Linked DNA regions of Homo sapiens: region 1 is linked to region 2. Evidence: promoter capture Hi-C in human tissues and cell types (Jung and others, 2019). All regions are on one chromosome and are shown on one strand. Each heading gives the region's core, a stretch centred on a gene start or on the middle of the fragment in contact. The rest is flanking DNA. Distances are from core to core; before and after follow the strand shown.

The links. Contacts are between HindIII fragments. The study calls those that stand out against the background at their distance.
Region 1: a fragment that was not itself captured here is called in contact with the fragment with the promoter of RASD1 in region 2 in 1 of the 25 tissues and cell types used here (lymphoblastoid cells).

The regions. Positions count from the first base shown.
Region 1 is chr17:18,029,477-18,034,601 of GRCh38, reverse strand. All of the region lies in intron 1 of ATPAF2 (ATP synthase mitochondrial F1 complex assembly factor 2), which reads left to right. Among named protein-coding and RNA genes, the nearest start is that of ATPAF2, 7.1 kb to the left of the region's middle. The HindIII fragment of the contact is 4,448 bases long and covers 1,565-5,125 here.
Region 2 is chr17:17,493,613-17,498,348 of GRCh38, reverse strand. It overlaps RASD1 (ras related dexamethasone induced 1), which reads left to right and starts at 1,954. Exons shown (of 2, transcript NM_016084.5): 1 at 1,954-2,453; 2 at 2,665-3,912. The coding sequence starts at 2,168. The coding sequence ends at 3,224. RefSeq lists silencers at 1,234-1,463, 1,514-1,643, 1,804-2,023. The HindIII fragment of the contact is 34,145 bases long and covers 1-4,736 here.

The sequences.
Region 1 (5,125 bases), core at 2,539-5,038, 530 kb before region 2:
TCTATATCTCAACACTTGTTGTTGTCTTTTTTATTACAGCTGTCCTAAAGGGTTTGAAGTGGTATCTCATTGTGGTTTTGATTTGCATTTCTCTGATGAATTATGTTGAGTATCTTTTCACGTGCTTAATGGCTATTTGTATATTTTCTTTGAAGAAACGTCTATTCAGATCCCTTGACCATTGTTTTTTTTTAAAGAGAGGGGGTCTTGCTCTGTCACCCAGGTTGTAGTGCAAGTGGCTCAGTTACAGCTTACTGCAGCCTCAACCTCCTGGGCTCAAGCGAGCCTCACACCTCAGCCTCCAAAGTAGCTGGGAACTACAGGTGTGTGCCACCATGCCCAGCTGACTTTAAAATTTTTTTGTACAGACAGGGTCTTGCTATGTTGCCCAGGCTGGTCTCAAACTCCTGGACTCAAGCAATCTTCCCACCTCGGTCTCTCAGACTTGAACATTTTTAAATTGGGTTATTTGTTGTTGTTTTTGAGACAGGGCCTCGGTCTGTTGCCTAGGCTAGAGTGCAGGGGTGTGTTCATGGCTCACTGCAGCCTCAACCTCCCAGGCTCAGGTGATCCTCCCATGTCAGCCTCCTGAGTAGCTGGGACTACAGGCACGTGCCACCATGCCTGGCTAATTTTTGTATTTTTGTAGAGACAGGGTGTTGCCATGTTGCTCAGGCTGGTCTTGAACTCTTGGACTCAAGTGATCCACCTGCCTCAGCCAGCCAAAGTGCTGGGATTACAAGCTCGAGCCACCATGCCCAGCCTATTTGTCTTTTTGTTATTGAGTCGTAAGAGTTCTTTATGTATTTGGGCTGAAGAATTTTGATACCTGAAAAGAGTTGGTTAGAGCCGCCCTAGGATTACAGATGGCCCTGGAGTTAGAATTTCACCTTTAAGGTTTAAGGCCCACCAGATGGCACTGTTTTAAAAGATAAAGGCACTGAGACAGCTCTGAAACCAGTACTTCCTCTTCTTGGTGCACTGTGGGAGTTGTGGTTCCTGAGGCTGGTAATCTTTCTAAAGGAAAGGCCAGTTCTGCATGATCCTACAAAGCTAGGCTGATTTTTTTCATCTTTAAAGACAGGGTTACCATTGATGTCTGCTAACCATGTATTCACCGAGAACATGGAAGCTTCATAGGTTTCTGGTGGTCTCACATTTTGTCTTATGTGACATTGTTGGGGAACATGGATCCCCCAAACGAATTGTCCAGATCATGTTCTTTTTTTTTTTTTTTTTTGAGACAGAGTCTCATTCTGTCACCCTGGTTGGGGTGCAGTGGCGCAATCTTGGTTCACTACAACCTCCGCCTCCTGGGTTCAACTGATTTTCAGCCTCCTGAGTAGCTGGTATTACAGGCAGGCAATACCACACCTCGCCAATTTTTTAATTTTTTGTAGAGACAGGGTTTCACCATGTTGGCCAGGCTGCTCTTGAGCTCCTGGCTTTAAGTGATCTGTCCCCCTCGGCCTCACAAAGTTCTGGGATTACAGGCATGAGCCACCATGCCCGGCCCCAGATCAAGTTCCTGTATGCCTGTGTGGAGCCTTTACTTGGCTCCCTTTGCTGTCTTTGCAGTGATCTACATGTCCCCCATATGTGGCCCCATTGCCCTCTCTAGCATCTTAGAGAATCTTGCATTCTCCTTCTGACCATCTGTCTAGTCCACAACTGCTCTCTAGAAACCCTGGTCCTTCATGCAACCTGTTTCTTCATCTGGAAACTACTTCCACAGCCCTGCTCTGCCAAAAAAAAAAAAAAAAAATTGAATCAATCAGAAAGTTTGGTACCTCCTGCCTCACCTTCAAGTTGCAATTTAATTCTGACTAATCGTTCCACGTGCCTGCCCCATCACAGAAGTCACCTTATTGTTTGCCTGGTTTAGTGTCTGTATTCCTACTAGACAGTAAATGGCTGGAGAGTGCAGAGATGAGCTTTGCACATGTCCCATCCCCAGGACTTGTATGTCCTGGAACATGATCAGTACTCACCAAAGCTTGTTCCAAGACACGTTTGCCCCTCCAAGTGTCAGTGGGTCATTCAGGAGAGCCCCTGGCTAAAACACATCTATGTGCACCTGCCTTCTAATCTGAGGCCTGGCGGCCCCTGGGCTTCTTTTGCCCTTCTGCCGTCTCATTTTCTGCATGGTTTTCTTCTGCTTGGAGAAATTTTTGGTGGCTTCTTCCCTGCCCTCCATCTATCCCACTCCCATCTAGTTTTTTCTTATTCAGTTACAGAAGTGAGCCTGGCCAACAAAACAGAAAAAAGACTTCCCTCTTGGGAAACCTGGCTGTCCCAGGAGCTTTTGAAGGTTCAGCCCTGTGCTGGCAGTTCCTGCCTTGAGTCTGTTCGTCTGCCCCAGGTCTCTTGGGTTCACTTCCCAGACCGGGCCTGGAAGTATGCTAGAGTGCTCACTCTTGTACATTTGTACACTCTGCTGGCTCTTCCTGCTGACATGGGAAGACCCTTTCCCCAGTGTTGAGTCAGAGCTTTCAGAGCCCTTCCCAACTTCCTGCCTGGCCTGGCTTTTATACATGCAGCCCAGCCTGTTGCATTGGAAAACACAAAGGACATGGTCTACCTCACTCCAGACCTGAGAGAGGAAAGGAGGCCTCCAGACCCATGTCTAGCCTGCCATTTGGATATGACCAGGACAGCATGTAGAGAAATTTAAAAGCAGTAGGGTGCTGTAAACTTCTAATTTTAGTGTCAAACGTATGAGATAATCAGTGTTGTGATTTCAGATGAAGGTGCCATAGTAAGACAACATCATCTTGGTGGACAGATCTGATCCTAAAAAAACACTTTATTTTCTTTTTTTTGAGATGGAGTCTTGCTTTGTCACCCAGGCTGGAGTGCAGTGGTGCGATCTCAGCTCACTGCAAGCTCCACCTCCCGGGTTCACGCCATTCTCCTGCCTCAGCCTCCCAAGTAGCTGGGACTACAGGCGCCCGCCACCACGCCCGGCTAATTTTTTGTATTTTTAGTAGAGATGGGGTTTCACTGTGTTAGCCAGGATGGTCTCAATCTCCTGACCTCGTGATCCGCCCGCCTCAGCCCCCCAAAGTGCTGGGATTACAGGCGTGACCACCGCGCCTGGCCTAAAAAAACACTTTAAACTCTGTCTATTTTATTCACTCTTGTATCCCAAGTGCCAAGACACATGGTAGACACACACATATTTTTGTGGGAAAACAATTTGGGCCTTAGTTTAGTAAGTGCAAATGTGGAATGCAATTTTGGGCCCTCTGTCTGTAAGTATTAGTGATAGCAAATGAGATTTATAGAAAACTGATATGATGGGAAAACATAAAAATATTTGGAGTAGGCTGGGCGCAGTGGCTCACGCCTGTAATCCCAGCACTTTGGGAGGCTGAGGTGGGCGGATCACGAGGTCAGGAGATCGAGACCATCCTGGCTAACATGGTGAAACCCCGCCTCTACTAAACAAAATGCAAAAAATTAGCCAGGCGTGGTGGCAGGCACCTGTAGTCCCAGGTACTCGGGAGGCTGAGGCAGGAGAATGGTGTGAACCGAGGAGGCAGAACTTGCAGTGAACCGAGATCGCGCCACTGCACTACAGCCTGGGCGACAAAGTGAGACTCCATCTCAAAAAAAAAAAAAAAAAAGGCCAGGCGCGGTGGCTCACGCCTGCAATCCCAGCACTTTGGGAGGCCAAGGCAGGTGGATCACGAGGTCAGGAGATCAAGACCATCCTGGCTAACACGGTGAAACCCCGTCTCTACTAAAAAAAAAAAAAAAAAAAAAAAAGCCAGGCGTGGTGGCGGCGCCTGTAGTCGCAGCTACTCAGGAGGCTGAGGCAGGAGAATGGCGTGAACCTGGGAGGTGGAGCTTGCAGTGAGCTGAGATCGCGCTACTGCACTCCAGCGTGGGCAACAGAGTGAGACTCCATCTCAAAAAAAAAAAAAAAAGAAAAAGAAAAAAAATATTTGGAGTAAAACCAGTTGCCCACTTCTCCATTACCCTTCCCTGTCCATGCACACATACTAATTTCTCCTGAATTTTCATGGTCTATTTGAATTAATGAAATTTTAACTTAAGCTTGTTTTTTTTTTTTTTTTTTTTTTCCCCAAGAGACAGGGTCTTGTTCTGTTGCCCAGGCTGGAGTGCAGTGGTGCCATCACAGCTCACCTGAAGCCTCAGCCTCCTGGGCTCAAGCAATCTTCCTGCTTCAGCCTTCCTAGTAGCTGGGGACTACAGGCATGTGCCACCATGCCTAGCTAATTTTTAATTTTTCTTTTTTTTTTTTTTTTTTTTTTTGAGATGGAGTCTTGCTCTGCCACCCAGGCTGGAGTGCAGTGGCGTGATCTCAGCTCACTGCAGCCTCTGCCTCCCGGGTTCAAGCGATTCTCCTGCCTCAGCCTCCCGAGTAGCTGGGACTACAGGCATGTGCCACCACACCTGGCTAATTTTTGTATTTTTAGTAGAGATGGGGTTTCACCACATTGACCAGGCTGGTCTCGAACTCCTGACCTCAGGTGATCCACCCGCCTCCGCCTCCCAAAGTGCTGGGATTACAGGCGTGAGCCACTGCGCCCGGCCTCATTTTTGTATTTTTTGTAGAGATGGGGTCTCATGTTGCCCAGCTTGGGTCTTGAACTCCTGGCCTCAAGCAGTCTTCCCACCTTGGCCTCCCAAAGTGCTAGGATTATAGGCATGAGCCACTGCGACCAGCCTTTTTTTTTTTTTTTTTTTTTTTTTAGCGTTAAAGGCAAACTATTTGGCCGGGCATGGTGGCTCACGGGTTGGATCACTTGAGGTCAGGAGTTCGAGACCAACCTGGCTGGCATGGCAAAACTCTGCCTCTACTAAAAATTCAAAAATTAGCCTGGTGTGTTGGCGCATGCCTGTAATCCCAGCTACTCAGGGGACTGAGGCAGGAGAGTCGCTTGAACCCAGGAGGTGGAGGTTTCAGTGAGCTGAGATTGCACCACTACACTCCAGCCTGGGCAAGAGAGTGAGACGCCATTTCAAAAAAAAAATAATAATAAAATAAATAAATAAAGCAAATGATTTACTCTTTTTTCTTCCACATGCTGCATCATTATTTCCAATAAATAACTTCAGTTAGGGTCTCCAAAGACTTTGAGAACTCAGTGAACAC
Region 2 (4,736 bases), core at 705-3,204:
GGGACTAGAGCCCCAGGAGGCAATGGCTGTGTGGGGTCCACCTTCACTATAGCCCTGGCCATCAGTCATCCCAAGTTAGAGCCCGGCTGCCCATGCAGTGCCGCTGTGGGAGGCACAGGAAGGCGGTGCTCAGTCTGAAGGTGGTTCAGGTCCGTACCTTAACTGAGCCCCCCCATGTACCCTCAACTGGCTCCTTTATGCAGTGAACACCCTGCACCACTGCAGCCCTATATCCAGGGCTGCGACTCAGTTCCTTCTCCCCTTCTCCCAGACTCTGGCAGACATACCTCAGATGGGGGCAGGAACCAAGAATGGCGGGGCTCCAGCCCCAGCTAGCCTGTCGGATAACTGCTGCATAAGTGACACCAGGAATCAGAGCCAGGCCAGGGCCACTGATGAGCCCTTGGATGCTCACTGTGTGATGCGTGCATTTGAAATATCTGACAGTAAGAGTGAGGCCTGGGAGAGATGCAGGGACTCTGAGGATGGGGGCCAAGCTGGGCTGAGAAACAAGTTAGTGGTGTCCTGCAGCAGCCCCTACAGCAAGTGCCAGCGTGGGAGGGAGGTGGGTAGGCATGGGGTGGGTGGTATGGCACTCACAGCACTGCCTGCAGACCACCACCTGACAGCTGGGCCGGTGGTGCCAGCTAATGGCTCCCTAGTTTTCTCGTAAGTCAGACGTGGCCAAAGCAAAACACTGAGCACACAGGTTGCCTTGAGGAGCAGTGACTGCCTCAAGAGCTCAGGGCTGAGGAGCTGGCTCCAGACAGCCTGTTGCCAATGTTCAGCAACATCACCCCACTCCTGGTTACTGATCGACCTGGTGTGCTCTTGAGAGTACCCCCACCAGGCCTCATGGGTCAATACTACTGTTATTGTTGCTATTGTTATTACCAGGCCCCGCCCTCCTAAAGCATTTGCATATTTTCATCCTTAATCACAGAACCAGAATCAGTATCTTCCAGAAGAGAAAACTGAGGCCCAGGAGAAAGCAAGAGGCTGTGCTGTGCTCCCAGGGCCTTCCTGGCTCGCTGTGGCTTTGAGCTCCAGGTCTCTCAGCTAGACAATGAGAACGTCGGCCCACGCGCGGCACAGTAAAAGCCCAAAATGCTATGATGGACGGGGTGGGCCGCTGGCTGCAGAGCCCTCCATACCACAGAGCATCTCTGGCTGGGAGAAAGGAGCAGGCTGAGGCCTGCAGCAGAGCGCGGGGTTGGGGACCGCTCCTGTTGGGCCCCAGCAAGGCGCCCTGAGACCCCTGCTCCATCCCTGCCGCTCCCCACCCGCCTGCTCCTAGCCTCTGTTCTAGCTCTGCCCGCGGCGGCCACAGCCTCCCCGAGCCGCCGGCCGGGCCCTCTGCTGCCCTCTGGCGGCCCGAGCGCGCGGTGCCGAGCTCCGCGCCTGAGGCCCTGAAACCCCGCGTCCGCCCGGCGGTCGCCTCCCGGGAACAAGAGCCCGGCTGGGGACCGGAGCGGAAGGGGGCTGGGGCTGGGGCTGTGCTCTGAGGACTGCAATATACGGTCCGCGCAAGCACTCAGCAAACGCTGCTGCGCTTACTGGGTTACTTACTAGATTCCTATTCTCTGGGGAAACTGAGAACCAAAGAAAATAAGTGTACGCGCGCGGGAGGTGCAGGAATGGGGGTCCTTGCCCGAAGTCGCAGAGGGACAGGGGCACCGCCGGGACCAGAACCCCGACGCCCCTGCGGCCGCCGAGCCCGCGGCAGTGGAAAAGCGGAGTCCGAGCGCCTCCAGCCTCAGCCCGACCCTGGACTGCTCCCCCCAGCCCCCGCGCCCAGAGAGCAGGAGCCCGGCAGCGGGTGACGAGGTCGCCGGGACTGGGAGCCGGTGCGGGGGAGGCGGGCCCCGCGGGGCGTGACGCACCGAGCTGGGAGGGCCGGGGCGGGGCAGCCGAGCAGGCTGCATATAAGGGCGGCGGCCGGGCGCCAAAGCCAGAGCAAGCGGCCTGTGCCCAGATCCTGGGAGAACCCCAGCCGAGCCCAGCCTAGCCCGAGCCCAGCCCGAGCGGAGCCGGAGCCCCAAGCCCGAGCCGCGCCCAGCCCGAGCAGAGCCCTCCAGCCGCTCACCCCGCGTGCCACCCCAGCGACCCTCAGCCGCTCTCTGCCCTTCTCTCGGCCCCGCGCCCGCCCTCGCGGCCCCTCTGCCCAATGAAACTGGCCGCGATGATCAAGAAGATGTGCCCGAGCGACTCGGAGCTGAGTATCCCGGCCAAGAACTGCTATCGCATGGTCATCCTCGGCTCGTCCAAGGTGGGCAAGACGGCCATCGTGTCGCGCTTCCTCACCGGCCGCTTCGAGGACGCCTACACGCCTACCATCGAGGACTTCCACCGCAAGTTCTACTCCATCCGCGGCGAGGTCTACCAGCTCGACATCCTCGACACGTCCGGCAACCACCCGTTCCCCGCCATGCGGCGCCTCTCCATCCTCACAGGTGAGCCGGGGGCCGGGCAGGTGCGGGAGGGAAGGGCGGGGAACCCTCGGCCAGGGCGCCCCGCGAGCGCCGGTCCGGCTGCCGCGCGCCGAGTAGTGCGCTTCGCGCTTAGAGAGGCTAGCGCGCCCCGCGCGGCCTCAAAGTCAGCCCGACTTGTCCCCTGGGCGGCCACCCTCACCTTCTCCTTTTCTGCTCTCTGTGCCCCCTCTAGGAGACGTTTTCATCCTGGTGTTCAGTCTGGACAACCGCGACTCCTTCGAGGAGGTGCAGCGGCTCAGGCAGCAGATCCTCGACACCAAGTCTTGCCTCAAGAACAAAACCAAGGAGAACGTGGACGTGCCCCTGGTCATCTGCGGCAACAAGGGTGACCGCGACTTCTACCGCGAGGTGGACCAGCGCGAGATCGAGCAGCTGGTGGGCGACGACCCCCAGCGCTGCGCCTACTTCGAGATCTCGGCCAAGAAGAACAGCAGCCTGGACCAGATGTTCCGCGCGCTCTTCGCCATGGCCAAGCTGCCCAGCGAGATGAGCCCAGACCTGCACCGCAAGGTCTCGGTGCAGTACTGCGACGTGCTGCACAAGAAGGCGCTGCGGAACAAGAAGCTGCTGCGGGCCGGCAGCGGCGGCGGCGGCGGCGACCCGGGCGACGCCTTTGGCATCGTGGCACCCTTCGCGCGCCGGCCCAGCGTACACAGCGACCTCATGTACATCCGCGAGAAGGCCAGCGCCGGCAGCCAGGCCAAGGACAAGGAGCGCTGCGTCATCAGCTAGGAGCCCCGCCGCGCTGGCGACACAACCTAAGGAGGACCTTTTTGTTAAGTCAAATCCAACGGCCCGGTGCGCCCCAGGCCGGGAGCGCGCGCGGACTGGCGTCTCCCCTCCCGGCGATCCGCCCCCAGCACTGGGGAGGCGCCACTGAACCGAGAAGGGACGGTCATCTGCTCCGGAAGGAAAGAGAACGGGCCAAGACTGGGACTATTCCCCACCCCCGGTCCCCCATTGAGGCCCGCCACCCCCATAACTTTGGGAGCGAGGGCCCAGCCGAGGGTGGATTTATCTTCTCAAAGACCTAAGAGTGAGCGCGGGGTGGGGGAGGGATGTGAAGTTATCCAGCCTCTGCTAGGCTTCAAGAAACCGTCATGCCCGCTTGAGGGTCAGGACCCACGGGGCATTATCTTGTCTGTGATTCCGGGTTGCTGTGACAGCCGGTAGAGCCTCTGCCCTCCCAAAACTAAGCGGGGGGGCGTGGGTCAAATCATAGCCAAGTGACTTGTTTACATGTGAGTGAAACTGCACAAAGGAACACAAAACAAAACTTGCACTTTAACGGTAGTTCCGGTGTCAACATGGACACGAACAAAACCTTACCCAGGTGTTTATACTGTGTGTGTCTGAGGTCTTTAAAGTTATTGCTTTATTTGGTTTTTTAATATACAATAAAATAATTTAAAATGGAAAACCGGTTTTTTTTTTTTTTTTTTTGCTTTTAGAGATGGCTGGAGTGGGGAAGGGTGGGGAGAAGGAAAGGGCTGGGCTTTGACTTAGGTGGAACTAGAACTTACCTTCCCCAGAACTGGAAAATAACCCTGGCCTTCTGAAGGCAGCTTCAGCTGCCAGAAAAGCCCCAGATGCCTGGGGCATCTATGTAGGGGATGGTTCCCTAGAAAACCGGGAAGAATATAAAGGATTTCAGGGTCCCCCCTGGAGATGAACTCTTTCTAGCCATCCACCCGCTTAATTTTCTTTGGGTTAGATGACAAAAGGCCTCATTTTCTGAGAGAATGTTCTGAATTCTTCAGCGTAAAAGCCACTGGAACTGTGCCTAACCATTTTGTCACCAGACTCAGTGTGGGCCCAGGCAAACTTTCGGACTGTTGGAGGCATCAGTCAGGCCCTGGGGAAAGAGCCTGAGACCCCATCTGGAAACAGGACCATCCTGGCGCGCCCCCACCACCCGCTCACTCCAGGGTGCCACCCTGTCTGGAAACAGCTAACTCCTCAGCCTCTGCTCCCCTCTAGCTCCAGGAAGTGCTCCTGGCCAGGTGTAGAGCCCCATCCCCCTTCAGCCTTGCTGTCTCCGTCTCATGGCTAAGGCACCCCAGAACACCAATCTCTCTGCCACTAGTACTGCAAACCTGTTGGTGGGTGACACCTGCCAAGCCTCTAATTCTTCACCCCGGGAAGAGAGAACACCCTCGGCATGGGCTCACTGTGGGGATTAAGTGTGATGTTTGAAAAGTACTTAGCATAAATGCCGGCCACCCAGTAATCCAAGTAATTGGT